Regions from separate parts of the Homo sapiens genome. Here region 2 is linked to region 1. Evidence: promoter capture Hi-C in 16 types of primary human blood cells and fetal thymus (Javierre and others, 2016). All regions are on one chromosome and are shown on one strand. Each heading gives the region's core, a stretch centred on a gene start or on the middle of the fragment in contact. The rest is flanking DNA. Distances are from core to core; before and after follow the strand shown.

The links. The method cuts DNA at HindIII sites, captures the fragments that hold promoters and counts their contacts. A CHiCAGO score of 5 or more calls a contact.
Region 2: a fragment that was not itself captured here is called in contact with the fragment with the promoter of BTBD10 in region 1 in 1 of 17 cell types (total B cells); the score reaches 5.1 in total B cells.

The regions. Positions count from the first base shown.
Region 1 is chr11:13,459,722-13,467,029 of GRCh38, forward strand. BTBD10 (BTB domain containing 10) reads right to left here and starts at 3,501. Exons shown (of 9, transcript NM_032320.7): 1 at 3,371-3,501. RefSeq lists an enhancer at 3,681-3,870. The HindIII fragment of the contact is 1,255 bases long and covers 2,893-4,147 here.
Region 2 is chr11:14,230,740-14,238,047 of GRCh38, forward strand. All of the region lies in intron 6 of SPON1 (spondin 1), which reads left to right. Among named protein-coding and RNA genes, the nearest start is that of RRAS2, 120 kb to the right of the region's middle. RefSeq lists enhancers at 1-381, 6,832-6,881 and a silencer at 55-273. The HindIII fragment of the contact is 6,386 bases long and covers 1-5,921 here.

The DNA of each region.
Region 1 (7,308 bases), core at 2,251-4,750:
CCTGCTCAGATAAGCCTACCATACAAATGAATAGACAATGTATAGCCTAAGAATTGAGAGTCCCAAAAATTGAATCATAAGGCACTGAACAAAAGTATACTCAATCCCTTCCCTTAGCCTCCCCTGATCCTCCTTTGGGATGGCAACTCAGGGGATGGGAAGAAGCGGAAAGCTATTTCCAAAAAAGAACTTCCTACTTTATGAGTCATGGTAGAAACAAGTAAAGACGAAAATAATGGTTCCCCCTTCAACAAGCACAATCTTCTCAAATATAAAACAAATTCCTCAGAAGTAGTCTTATAACTCTTCAACAGGAGCACCTCACAAACATAATACATATCTCCTCTTCTTTCATTTCCTATTTCAGAGAGAGGCAGAGATTGAATGAACAGATATTAGCCTAGCTTGGCCTGAGATGACTGAGCTAAAATGAAGAAAAGAAAATCTGCAAATTCCCATAGCAGTCCTGATTAAAAACCAGTATTCTATGTAGTCTCTGCACAAGTTATGATAAATTTAGCCACAAAAGGCAGACCTCTTTTTAAAACTGCACAATACACAAATGGGTACTTAATCATTTCATCTTCCTTTTCAAAATTCTCTCCCTTACCTAACTTCCTCTCTCACCCTTATCCCAAGTGAAGACCCCCAACTTGCCCTCTATATGCCTAAAAAACACCTCTTACTTAGCTTTGACCTCTAGCACTCCCATTCCCCATAACCCAACTAGGTATGAATCAGATTATGTGATTAAATTACTTCACATTAATGGGTAAATGAGGCTTAATCCACAAAGGTCAATTCCACACGTCATTAAACTCTACTATGTATAAGGCACTAAGTTTAATCAATTAATATACCTATCCTTCTTACAAGAAAAACTAACACAAATCAATCTTTTAATGAACAATGTAAGGAAGGGGCACAAGAGTGTTTGCTTCACATCACACTTTCTCCACCCAGTTCTTTCCATCCTGTTGCCAAACCCCTCCAATCTCCATCTGGCATGGAATAAAATCCAAGGGATCAGTATTTCTTCCAGTAAGTCAATGCCTAGGAAGACAATGTGGGATAGCACAGCAAACAATAAACATTCAAATCCTGAAATGGACTGTAGAGGGTCTCTTGTATTTAATTTTATATATTAGCTGCAAATACAATAAAGAGCTTCTAAATAATTCAATTTCTGTACAAGATACCTATAAATCAGCTTTGCTCAGAACTCTGAGTTTTTAAACCATAAATACTGAGATGCTTTTTCTTCAGTTATTTCCACAGTTAAAACGTTTATAGTAAATACCAGTTCAAATTGCCCTACTATAACTATACTTAAAGGCTATTAAACTTAACTACTGTTTTCAATTAGATGTGACATTTTTCCCAAGACCCCTTAAGTTTGAAACTCCAAACTTGCTTTAAACCTCCTTTTTTTCCAGTCATAAAATTTATTAATTTTGATTTATAACAGAGCTTCTAAACTGGAGAGGAGAATACAACTATGGACAGGTTTGGATTTGATTCAGTCACATGATATTTTTAATGGTTTTAATTAGTTGTCAATATTTTTAAGACGCAAGACACTGAATGCAAAAATCTAGATTTCCGAGTTCTCTTGAGAATGCTGAAGATGGGGTCCATATTCTTATATAGCACTGATTAGGGGGACCTGAGACTTGGATGTCTCTCTGATAAGGCATAGTGCATTTCCCTCATTTTCATTATCTAACTAGTACCCGAAGGCATGTGAGTTTGTTGCTCATGCTATGGCTTTGAAAGGTGCACAATATTTTCCATATCACTTCCATACTTCCCTAAGTCACCTATTATAAAAAGCCAAAAGCAGACCACAGTGGTTTGCAACTCCATAGTTAATAATTTAAAAAATTCACATGGCTTAGAGGGAGTGAGAAAGAAGAAAATTCAGACTGGTGGAAGGGTAACATAATTACATAGGGTTAGAAGTCTATCTGAAAGCTTTTCTGGGAGTGAGAAAAAAGGTGAACGAACACAAAAACATTGTTGAAACACTAAAAGCTTTCCTGATTGAACACTGTTACTCTCTGGTGGTTCCTTACCACATTCCATGCTTCAGAAACTTCCTTCCTACTTTGTATGTATTAATATAATAGCTGTTAGGTCATACACGCTGAGAAATATTGGGAAAATTTATAAAACACATTTACATCATCAGAAATAATTCTTCTCACACTTTTTTTTTTTTTTTTTTTACCAGTCTTGGTCCACTTTCAAATCCCTTCCCAAGTATTTTCTACTGCTTTCCGCTTTATATTCAAATGACAACTGCAGTCCTGGGTTTCAGGACTGAACTTCAATCCTGGACAGGCTCTCTAATACAGAAACTCTTTTGGCCGTTATGGCTGCATTCTTTATTATATCTCTTATTCCGATTTCCACAGTCTCTTTCATTGAAAATTTATCCCTAACCCCCTCTCTAAAAGATTTTGATCAAATTTGTGTAGTTGGGGGGTTGGGAGGATAGGGGCGGGAAGGAACTCAGTTGTCCAAATACAATTAATATCCTGTGCTGTTTCATTTAGATTGCTAATTTAAATAAAAAGCATGAAAACTCTGCAAGATAATAAATCTTCGTAAAATAATCTTGTTTACTAAGTGCACAAAGCCACAAGCAAGTGAAGCTCTATCTTTCAGCATGTCTGGACTAGTGACTTTTCATCATGGACTCAGAATACTGAGAAAGGAGAAGCAGGAAATCTGTGAGGCCCAGGGACAGTCACACTGGCCCACACTAACAAATTACTAACCGATGTCTCACCTTCCCCCGCCCCATTCCCAAAGATAAGGGTGTCAGGGCACCTGCATCTGAAGAAGAAAGACATCAGAACCTTTTCCGTGCAAGTTTTAAGAAAACAAAGCTTTACCACACGTAAAATGGTTACAACATAAAACCACGCAGCACGTTAGTGGGGTCTCACTCCTCTTCACCCAGAGGGAGGCTGCCCACCACCTTATCCCCTATTGTGATGCGCCTTCCTCAGGATGTCGCTGCGTTCGTCTGAGATGACAGGAAAGGGGCGGGGCACGGGGTTCCTCTGCCCTGGAAAGGGATGAGGGTATCGCCTTCATCCCCGGAGAAAGGCCCCCGGACTCCCAACCCAAAAGCAGCAGCCGCAAAACTCAAGTCTTATCCCGGCCTCTCCTAATTGGGTGCTCGTGGCCGGAGCCCAAAACGCCACCCACGGTACCCGAGCAGGGTCCGGCCGCCCAGACCACCGCCGCAGCAGCCTGGCTCTCACGCCCAGATTCGCCCTCCGCCCCTTTCCTCTTTCGCCCCGGCCAAGCCCAGCCTCCCGCGCCGCCCCCGCCGAGTTCCCCAGCTGAGTCCACTCACTCTCGAACCTGTAGTCCCCCTTCAGTGCCCACACAAGATTGGGGCAAAGGCCGGGGCCAGTGACACCTCCACTTCCTCCTCAGCCAGATCCCTCCGGAGGTGGCTGTGGAGGAAGCCACTGAGGCGGCTGCGCGTAGCGGAGCCGCCCCGGCAGGTTGCAGGCCGGCTCCTCAGCCTCTTACCGCGAGAGCTCACAATGCGAAGAGGCGAGGCCAGCAGCGTTCTCGCGAGAACGGTGCTCTCCGCCCAGGGGTGGGCGGGGCACCGAAGGAGAAGGCAGTTGAGGGCGCGGCGGCCACGGGTGGGATCTCAGGCGCGTGGAGAGGAAGGCGCCGCGCGACCTCTCCTCACAGACATCAGCTCGGGTCAACCGCGGGCCTCGAGCCCGAGTGGCTGAGGGCTGTTACCTTCAAACCTTTGAATCCCACGTTTTCCCCTTGACTTCCTGTCACCGTTAGAGAAAAGTGGACAGCGTCTCGGTCACAGAGTTGGAGAAATAGTGCAGGGACTCTTCAGGGAGAGCGTTTTCCTCATCAAAGCAAACTGCAAAATCGCTTCTGCCGGCGTGGACCTGATGAGAGTCGGTCGTCGTGAGGGACACCCTCTGTTCCCTAACGTCCCCCGCTGCTTATTTTTAAACGCTCGGTTGGCGGGAACCCCTGTGCCAGCTGAAACTCCTTCAGTTTGGCCGCCTAGGAAACACCGAGAGTCACCTACATGGGCTGGCTGGGCAATAAAAACGGGAAAAAATGTAAAAGACACAGTCTCCGCCTTCGAAGCTTACACCCCCGGGGCAAGACCTACAGGAAAATAGATAATCCCATTATTCTCTGATAAAAGCCGAGCTGCTTGCCATGAGCTCTGGGAGCAGACGGGGAGGCCTTGTTGAGAAAGCCTTCACCTGGGAGTGACAATTGCGCTGAATCTTAAGCATAAGTAAGTTCTCCAGTTTAGGGAAGAGAGGGAAGGGCATTGCAAGGAGAGGAAGCAAAGAGGAAGAGGACCTGGTTTGAGTAATTGGGTATGAAAACAGATATTGCAGCAAGAACTTTGTTGAAAAACCTTTAACCACTGTTTAGTTCGGATGAGAACATTCCCAGGCTCCTACGTGTGATACGCAAAGTATTTTCCAAATCAGTGTTTATGCTAAGAAGATGAGCAGTTGAGCTGGACAATTATAAGATAACTTCATCTTTCTCCTGTAAGGACACTTAAATATCAGAAACCTAAGAGAAACGGGTTATTGTCGTAATTCACTAAGTTATTATAGCCAACATTTTGCTAAATTGGAAATTGCCAATAATTTCAAGTTGTCTACATAAGAGCAATCTAATAGGAATTTTGTGATACAGTTTCTCAGAGAAACTCTGAGAAAATTCTCAGGCAAAAAACAAAAACGTCATCAGTCCTGATTTATTATCAAAATTTTCTCCTATAAGCTCTGCTCAGAAGAAGTCATTCTGTAGTCCAAGTTAGGGCTAATGAGGAGCCATACTCTTACATCAAAATAGAAGCTGTCCTTTTCTAAAGAAAGACTCTGGTATTTTGCTGTAGTTTCCACTCACCTTCCTTTGGACACATTATTTTCATATTACATATAAAAATATGTATACTATATGAAAAATACTATGTATACTATAGTTTTATTTGGCTTACCATACTCTCCCTACGAATAAGCCCAACACTTAGGAGGAAAACAAAAAAGTTATTCTAACCCTGCTGATACGGTTTGGATCTATGTCCCCACCTGACCTCTCATGTGGAATTGTAATCCCCAGTGTTGGAGGTCGTTGGATCATGGGGGCAGATTTCCCTGTTTTTGCCATTCTGGTGATAGTGAGTTCTGGTGAAATCTGTTCTTTAAAAGTGTGTGGCGCCCCCCCACCCCCGCCCCACTCCTCCCACCATATAAGACGTGCCTGCTGTACCTTGGCTTTCTGCCATGATTGTAAGCTTCCTGAGGCCTCCCCAGAAGCCCAGCAGAAGCCGTCGGACTTCCTGTACAGCCTGCGGAGCCGTGAGCCAGTTAAACCTCTTTGTTTTATAGCAGTGCAAGAATGGACTAATGCACCTGCCATAGGCCAATTGGGTGTTCTGTTAAGCATAATTTCACATCAAGTTCTTGGAATTTTCCAGGAAGCATTAGAAGAATCATATGAATGAAAGACTTCAGGCAAAATATGGAAACTTTGTTCCATGCTGGAATCTGTTCAAACCATCATATCCTACTTGGATGGGTCCTGGAGCTCATTTCATTCTGCTGTTCTTCAAAAACAAAAGAGAATGGGAGTTGGGAGAAAATAGAAAATCGAATAAAGTTTCTACTGTTCTTTGCTTTAAAAGAAAATTAATCGGCCGGGTTCGGAGGCTCGCGCCTGTAATCCCAGCATTTTGAAAGGTCGAGGCGGGCAGATCACGGGGTCAGGAGATCCAGACCATCCTGGCTAACATGGTGAAACCCCGTCTCTACTAAAAATACAGAAAATTACCCGGGGGTGGTGGCAGGCGCTTGTGGTCCCAGCTACTTGGGAGGCTGAGGCAGGAGAATGGTGTGAATCCGGGAAGCGGAGCTTGCAGTGAGCAGAGCTTGTGCCACTGCACTCCAGCCTGGGCGACAGAGCGAGACTCCGTTTCAAAAAAAAAAAAAGAGATAATTAACCTTTCAAATATTAAGGTAGTAGCACAGTAGCACTGGTAACAGTTATACATTTGGTAGGTAATGCCATAGATTTAGATAATCACAAATCTGCTCTACACGATAATTTGTAAATGCTAGCTGACTGCATAGGCTAAGGTTCAGAACTTTAATGAAAGTCTTTCTTCCACACACCAAAGAGGTCCATACAGAAAGAGAAGTTTCATATAGTAGCAGTGAACAAACAAGGTCGTTTGGTAGTTTGTGTTATAGCATGCTAAGGCAATATTGTTTCAAAGCAGATAAGACCACAGACCCAGAATCCTATTTAATTTTTAAAACCTGGAATTTCTTTGTACTACTAAGTTTGAGCACTGCCATCTAATGGCAGGAACAGGAAAATCACATACACGCAAAAATAACTCGATCCCTATTCAGCAAATACATTTATTAATCAAGCCCCTGTGTAAGAATACCAGAAGAGCTGGGCACTGTGGCACGTGCCTATAATCTCAGCACTTTGGGAGGCGGGAGGATCACTTGACAGGAGTTCGAGACTAGCCTGGGCAACATAGCAAGACTTCTCTACAAAACTGAAAAAAATAAAAATACTAAGAGATACAGATAGTATTATACATATTCTGACAAAATGAGATGTATAATTAAATAACAAAAGGAAAACAAGTTAGGTCAAAGATAGAAATAGTGTGTTATGGGAGGACAGAGATGAAGATTACTCTTTTTTTTTTTTCTTTTTTGAGATGGAGTCTCGCTCTGTTGCCCGGGCTGGAGTGCAGTAGTGCAATCTTGGCTCACTGCAACCTCTGCCTCCCTGGTTCAAGCAATTCTCCTGCCTCAGCATCCCGAGTAGCTGGGATTACAGGCATGTGCCACCACGCCCGCCTAAATTTTTGTATTTTTAGTAGAGATGGGGGTTTCACTGTGCTGGCCAGGCTGGTCTCGAACTCCTGACCTCAGGTGATCCACCTGCCTTGGCCTCCCAAAGTGCCGGGATTACAGGCGTGAGCCACCGCACCCAGACATAAGATTACTTATTTTTATTTTTTCTTTTTCTTTTTTTTTTTTTTTAAGAACACCACCTTTAAGGAGAGCTAGCTTGTAAGCTCCTTTTTTCAGGGGCATGGGCCTTCTCATTATCACTTCAATGGGAGAGAGCTGATGTATTCCAAGCAGGGTAGAATTTAAGCTAAGCAAATGAAAGAGTCTTAGGCCAAGGAAGGTAAGACGTTTCTGTAAGCTTTGCCAATTGATTTTGTATTTTCCATTTGTGCATCCCACCAGT
Region 2 (7,308 bases), core at 1,479-3,978, 770 kb after region 1:
TTTCCATTTTTCTTTCTCTCTCTCTTTCCTTCCTTCCTTCCTTCCTTCATTTTTTCGTGGTGGTGGTGAGACAGGGTCTCACTCTGTCACCCAGACTAGGGTGCAGTGGCACAATCACAGCTCACTGCAGCCTTGACTTCCTGAGCTCAAGCGATCCTCCCACCTCAGCCTCCTGAGTAGCTGAGTAGCTGGGACTACAGGCATGTGCCACCACACCCAGCTAATTTATTTTTTATGTTTTATTTGTATTATTTGTAGAGATGAAGTCTCACTCTGTTGCCCAGGCTGGTCTCGAATTCTTGGATTCAAGCAGTCTTCTTGCCTTAGCCTTCCAAAGTGCTGGGATTACAGGCATGAGCCACTGTGCCCAGCCGCCACTTTTTTTCTTTTTTTTCTTTTTTTTTTTTTATTTGAGATGGAGTCTCACTCTGTCACCCAGGCTTGAGAGCAGTGGCATGATCACAGCTCACTGCAACCTTCACCTCCCAGGTTCAAGCAATTCTCCTGCCTCAGCCTCCGGAGTAGCTGGGACTACAGGCGCATGCCACCACGCCTGGCTAATTTTTTGTATTTTTAGTAGAGACAGGGTTTTACCGTGTTAGCCAGGATGGTCTCGATCTCCTGACCGCGTGATCCACCTGCCTTGGCCTCCCAAAGTGCTGGGATTACAGGTGTAAGCCACCACACCTGGCCCCAGCCTCCATTTTTTTAATGGCAATATATTCACATGGTTTGAAAATCAAAAGATATATAATAAGGTTACACAGTGACAATCCTCAGCCTTTTGCTTGCTCCCTGGTTACCTAGTTCCCTTCTCCTGAGGCAACTGATTTTTGTAATGTTCTTATATATCCTTCCAGAGATACTTTATGCAACTAGAAATATATACACACACAATTTTCTTTATCCTTACCACCCCTCTCCACAAAGGTAAATAGATTACACAAATAGATTACTATACAAACTGTACTGTAGTTTGCTTTTAACATTTAATATATCTTACAGATACTCTTACTTGTGACATGACTTTTTTAATGGTGAATCCAAAGACTATACAGCAATGTCTAAAAAAAAAAGATTCAAAAGTATATACGTGTGTGTGTGTGTGAGTTTTGTGCATAAGTTATGATGTCAACTATGACAAACAAATGAATATTGCAATTGATGAAAGCTGCTGGGTAAGGATGGTGGGATTATAGGGTCATTCTTTTTGTTTCTCTCTCCTCCTACGCCGTGTGTGTGTGTGTGTGTTTGTCTCTGTGTGTGTGGCCAAAACATGGTTATGTTTTTAAATTCTAAAGACCTTATTTCAGTATGTGAGGTATATTTTCATTTTGGTAGAGTTCTTTCCTGGCCCTTTCATATGCATCAGCATCTGTTTCTTAAAATACTTGAGTCACTTTATTGGTGAAGGCTTCCTCCACCACTCTAAAATTGCAGCATAACTCTCTCACCCCATCCTGGCCCTCCCCCTCACCCTTCCCGGCTATATTTTCCCCGGAGAGCTAATCAGCACTGGACACACTGTGTAGCTGTTATGTCTGCCTCCTCCTCCGGAATGTAAGCTCCTTGAGGACAAGGATGGGTGTGTCTTCTGTTCAGGGCTCATTCTCCAGCACGTGGAATAGGCCTGGCACAGACTAGGGGCTCCATCTATCATTGCTGGATGAATGAGTCCTCACCATCAGCCCCAGCAACCCAACCCACATGCTCTCTGGCTCATGCCTGTAACCACTAACCAGAGCACCTGCAGATAACCAGTAACCAGAGCATCTGCAGCTCTGTCCTCTGCTTCCCTTTTCCCTCCCCACTCTGGCAACTCTGGAAGACCACTCCTCCCTCCCAGGTCTGGATCTCACCTTAGGGATCCATTCCTGCAAGTGCACCCTCCCTCTCTCCTGCAATATGAGCTTATCTTCTATATTGGATTATACACTTGGACATACAAACTTGCCCTCATATCACACATCTTTCAAAAAATAATCACATGTCCTTCCTGCTACTGCCATTTTTCTCAACTCCACAGCCGACTTCTCAAAAAGCGCTGTCTGGGCTTGCTGGTTCCGCTAATTCACCTCTGTCTTTCCTGAACCTGCTTCCATTGTATTTTCAGTAGTGGCCAGTGGGGCAGCGGCGGCAGCAGTGAGCACATGGCAGGGGGGGCAGTAGGGCAGCAGTAAACAGAGGCCGCAGAGGTAGTGGGGTAAGCACAGGGTTTCTGAAGAGGCCCTGGGCAGGTCCTGGTGTCCTCCTATCTCTCTGGCCATTATACCTTAGTCTGCTTTGCTCTCCCCCATCCTCTCCTCTGCCTCCATTCACTCCCCAGGTAATCTATCCTGTGGTTTTAACTACCAGTCTCTATGCTGATGACTTGGAGTTTACGTCTCCAGCCTGGACTTCTCCGTTGAGCTCCGGCCTCATATATCTACCTTCCTACATGACACCTCCTTTTGGAGTCATCCTTGACCCCTCTTTGTTTTATACCTCACATCCAATCCATCAGCAGATAACGCTGAGCCGACCTGTAAAATATATCTGCATCCCATGCCTTGAACCCCTTCCATTGCTCTTCCCTGGCCCTATGTCGCCAGACACAGCAATGGCCTCCTGCCTGGGGTCCTTGCTCCCCAGCTTGCCCCACTCCAGTTACTTTCCCTGAGCAGCCAGCAGGATCCTTTAAAAATATGAATCAGGTCATACCACTCTTCTGCTCACAAACCCCTCAGCCATGTTCCAGTCCCATCACACTCTGAACAACAGCCCCTAAACCCTCTGGGAGGGCAGCCAAGGCCAGAGACTTCCTCTAGCTTATTATTAACTAATTGTTTAATTAACTAATTCATTATTTATCCCTTAAATATTCCCTGCATACCTCTCACAAGCCAGGCTGGTGCTGAGGATATAGAAGGGATGCAATGCGGCCCCTGCTCTAATGCTGGCTTCTGGGACGGGACCTGCCCTGGGATGGCAGTGGGGATGGGAATCATGGTTGAGGAGTGTCCAACACTGTTTCTTTTTCTTTTTTTTTTTTTTTTTTTTTGAGATGGAGTTCTGCCCTCGTCGCCCAGTCTGGAGTGCAATGGTACAATCTCAGCTCACTGCGACCTCTGCCTCCTGAGTTCAAGCAATTCCCCTGCCTCAGCCTCCCAAGTAGCTGGGATTACAGGTGCCCGCCACCATGCCCAGCTAATTTTTGTACTTTTAGAGATGGGGTTTCACCATGTTGGCCAGGCTGGTCTCAAACTCCTGACCTCAGGTGATCCATCAACCTTGGCCTCCCAAAGTGCTGGGATTACAGTGTGAGCCAAAGCACCCGACCCCCAGTGCTGTTTCTTGAAGACTACAGGATGTGTTCCCATGGGGTAGGGTTAGGGGTGCTGAAAGGGGCACTACCCTTACAGGTTGAGGCACCTCCAGTCAGATCTGGCCTGGATCATGGGCTGGGCTTCCTCACAGCCCTTTCTGTTTGAAGGCAGACAGCCCTTGCTTGATGTTCTCTCCTGTTTGGATTTGGCATCACCTACGTGATGTTCGAATACCTTCTGCTGTGGCCCCCTTTTCCCTTCTTTGCTCTGGCCTTGGCACTAAGGTTTTTCTGACTGCTGAAGGTCAGGTAGAAGATGGGGAGGCGGACCACGGAAGAGCAGGTCCTGGGGGCTGGTGGGATGGGAGGCAGGCATGCCCCATCAGCCTCTTCTGCTCCTTTGCTCACTGATTTTACTCAGGGGAGCAGCAGACTTGTGTGAGCACTAAAAAGAACATAATAAAAATGCAGAAAATGAGGTTAAATCCAGGATGGTACTTCAGTTACCAAAGGACAAGCTAAGTAAATGCCGATGGCCAGTGCCAGCACACAGAAGGTCATAGGGTGATGTGAGTCCTCAGAGCTCCCACCCACCGGAGGCAGCCCTTGGGCGGAGGGGCAGTGGGGCAGGCCCGGAACAGCTCTGATGGTCCCTTCCTCTCTGGCTTCAGAAATGCCAAGCTGCTTCCACAAAACCATCTCAGGGGAAAATCATTATCTACGGACATTATGCAATTTTCCCATCGAAATTACAAGCTGTGTTTGAAAAGAAATAAAAAGAAATTGAATTTGAAATGCTTCTGTGCAAACGCATCATCTTCTAGTGGATCTGCTAATGGGCTTCAGATACTTTCTCTTGCTCTAAAATAGTTGATCAGACAGCAGCTTGTGATGGTGGCTGCTTCCCGGGGAACGGGGCATAGAATGAGCACTTATGAACGGCCAGCCAGCCCACCTGAGCCAGGTTCAGAACCTGTGAGCTCTGACCACGGTTCCCAAAGTGGTCACTGTATGCTGTCCCTTCCCCTCCTCTACCTGGCAGTGCTGGCACGGCTCTATGCTGGGACTCTCACTGCTCCTCCAGCGCCTCCAGCTGACACCCAGGTCGATGAGTGTCACTTCACACTGCGCTGGCTCCATCCTAGGTCCAGGGAGTGCCCACGGACTGGGCCTCGGAGGACACCAGCCCCTTCCTCATCACAGCCTCTCATTCACCCAACAAGTATTAGTTAAGCGTGTTCCCAACACAGATCTAAACACTGATAGTACAGCAGTGAGCAAAACAGACAAACACCCTCGCCCTCTTGGAGCTTCCATTCTAGCAGGGGGAGATAGACAATAAAAAGTAAATAAGGCAGGACATGGTGGCTCACGCCTGTAATCCCAACACTTTGGGAGGCTGAGGCAAGCAGATGGCTTGAGCCCAGGAGTGTGAGGCCAGCCTGAGCAACAAAGCAAGACCCCATCTCTACAACTAATTTTAAAACTAACTGGGCATGGTGGTAGGCACCTGTAGTCCCAGCTATTTGGTATGCTGAGGGTAGAAGGATGGCTTGAGCCCAGGAGGTCATTCTACAGTGAGCCATGATTATGCCCCTGTACTCCAGCCTAGGCAACAGAGAAAGACCCTGCCTCAAAAAAAAAAAAAAAAAAAAAAAAAAAAAGTAAGCAAAATGCACAGTCAACTGGACAATGGCAAATGTTATGAAGAAAAGATAGTGGGATAAAGGAATAGGGATGCTGAGTCAAAAAGGGGGCAGGGACCTGCCATGGACATCAAAGTCCTCACTGAGAAGTTGACATTTGAGCAAAGACCTGGAGGAAACAAAGGAGAGAGTGCTCTGGTATCTGGGAGAACAGCATTCCAGGCACAGGGAACAGCAAGTGCAAGGTGTGCCTGGCATGTTTAAAGATACATAAGAAGTCCAGGATGCCGAAACCCAGGTTGTGGAAGAGTAGTAAGAGATGAGGCTCAGGAGGACAGGCAGACCATGGAGGGTGTGGGGGACCAGAGCAAGGTCCTGTCTGCTGTGAGATGCAAAGCCACTGGAGGATTTTGGCCAGAGGAATGGCATGATATGACTGCTGCACGAACAAGAGTCTGGAGGAAGGGAGGGGAGGTAGAGAGACCTGCTAGGAAGCAACTGCACTCATCTAGCTGAGCGATGATGGTGGCTTGGATCAGGATGGAGGCAGGCAGGAGACGGAAAGTGGTTGGATCATGAAGATATTTTGGAAGTGGAGTTGACAGGGTGTGCCGATGGATCAGTTGCAGGGTGGGAGAGAAAGAGGCATCCAGGGTGGATGGAACTGAAAGTACGGCATTGCCATGTAATGGGATGGGAAGAATGAAGGAGGCTGGGCTTAGGGAGGGGAAGATCAGGAGTTTGGTTTCAGGCACGTTGTTGAGTTTGAGATGCCACTTAGATACCCAGATGAAAATGTTGAGTGGCTGATATGCAAGTCTAGAGTCAGAGGCTAGTTTGCAATAGAAGATTACAGCTTAGGAATCATCAGCATATACACAGTTGGCTTTTTAAGGCAGGGGACTAAATGAAATCACCAAGGGAGTGTGGATAAAAGAGAAGACCAAAGGCTTGAGCCCTGGGGCACTTCAAGCTTTAGAGGAAAGTGAATAGGAGTCAGCGAGGGAGACTGAGAAGGAAGAGTTGATGAAGTGGAAAGAAAATCAGAGGCAGCAAGTCCCAGAGCCAAGGAGAAAGCTTTTCAAGGCAGAGGGAGTGAGTGACCAGCTGTGTCAAATACTGCTGAGGGGTCACAAGAGCTGAGAGCTGGGCACTGACTTTGGCTTTGGCACGGAGAGGTCACTGGTGACCTTGACGGGAGCAGTGAGTCTGCTGTCAGAGGAGAGGTGAGTCTCAGTTGCCTCACCTGAGAAATGGGGACACCCTCCTGCCTTCCTCAGAGAGCAGCAGTGCAGACCATGGGCAAACTGCAAAGTGCCACCAAATATGAGCTGTTTTATTTATGACCTGAGAAGCCCAGAGGCTGTTGAAATGAGGGGAGGCTACTGTTGGGCACAATTGGTTTTAAAGATGCTTACAGCCCCGTTATCACCTCATAAAATGGCTCATTTCTTGCTACTCATCACCAGAACACTCACCCAGGCATGAAAAAGTTACCTTCAGAGGTAGAAGCTGTCAGGATGGATATTTTTTGTGCATGGCAACTGGGAAAGAGAAAAAGCAAATAATGGGGCCAAATAGTGCTCACCGGGGTCTCCACGCAAGATTCCAGACACTGCTCTCCCAGAGGGAACCCCAGTGATCCTGTGCCTCAAAGCAAGGGCTCCTTGGAGAAAGCCACCAACCAGGGTCAGCTGTGCTCTCACTGCAAAATGAGCAACATGGGGGAGGGAGGAGAGAAGGATGGAGAAGAAGGACAGTCAGGGAAAGTGGAAAGAATGTGAGTTTGGAGTCAGATACACATGCGTTGGAATCGTGGTTCCTGTGTGGTCAGCAAATGACCTGACTCCTCTGAGCCACAGCTTCCTCATCTGCAGTGGACAGCGTGATAGCTATTTCCAAAGCTTTCTGTAAGAAACAAGCTGTTGAATGGGGGAATGCACACTGTGTGTGTGGCTGCGTATCACTGCATTTGCAATTAGTGGCACTGGGTTTTCCCCTGTTTAGTAGCAGACAGTTTTTCTTCAGCCCAAGGAGCCTGTGCCTTCCCGGCTTCATCAAACCGGTCGTCAGAACAGCAGTAACTTTCAGTGTTGTGAACATGGTCTGATATTCTTCCACGTGTGGCTGTGATATGCAGAACTGAAAGTAGGCTAGGACATGCCCTTAAGAGCAGCAGAAGTAGGAGGGGTGGGCCTGGTTCTCCTGGGCCACAGTGTGCACTTTCAGGCCCCATCTGCCTGGGTTCATGGTGGCAACGGGTGTGGCCTCTAGAATCAGACTGAGGTCTAAACTCTAGCTCAGCCAGTTAACTAACTGTGAAACTAATTTGGCCAAATAAATGTGTTTCTGAGGATT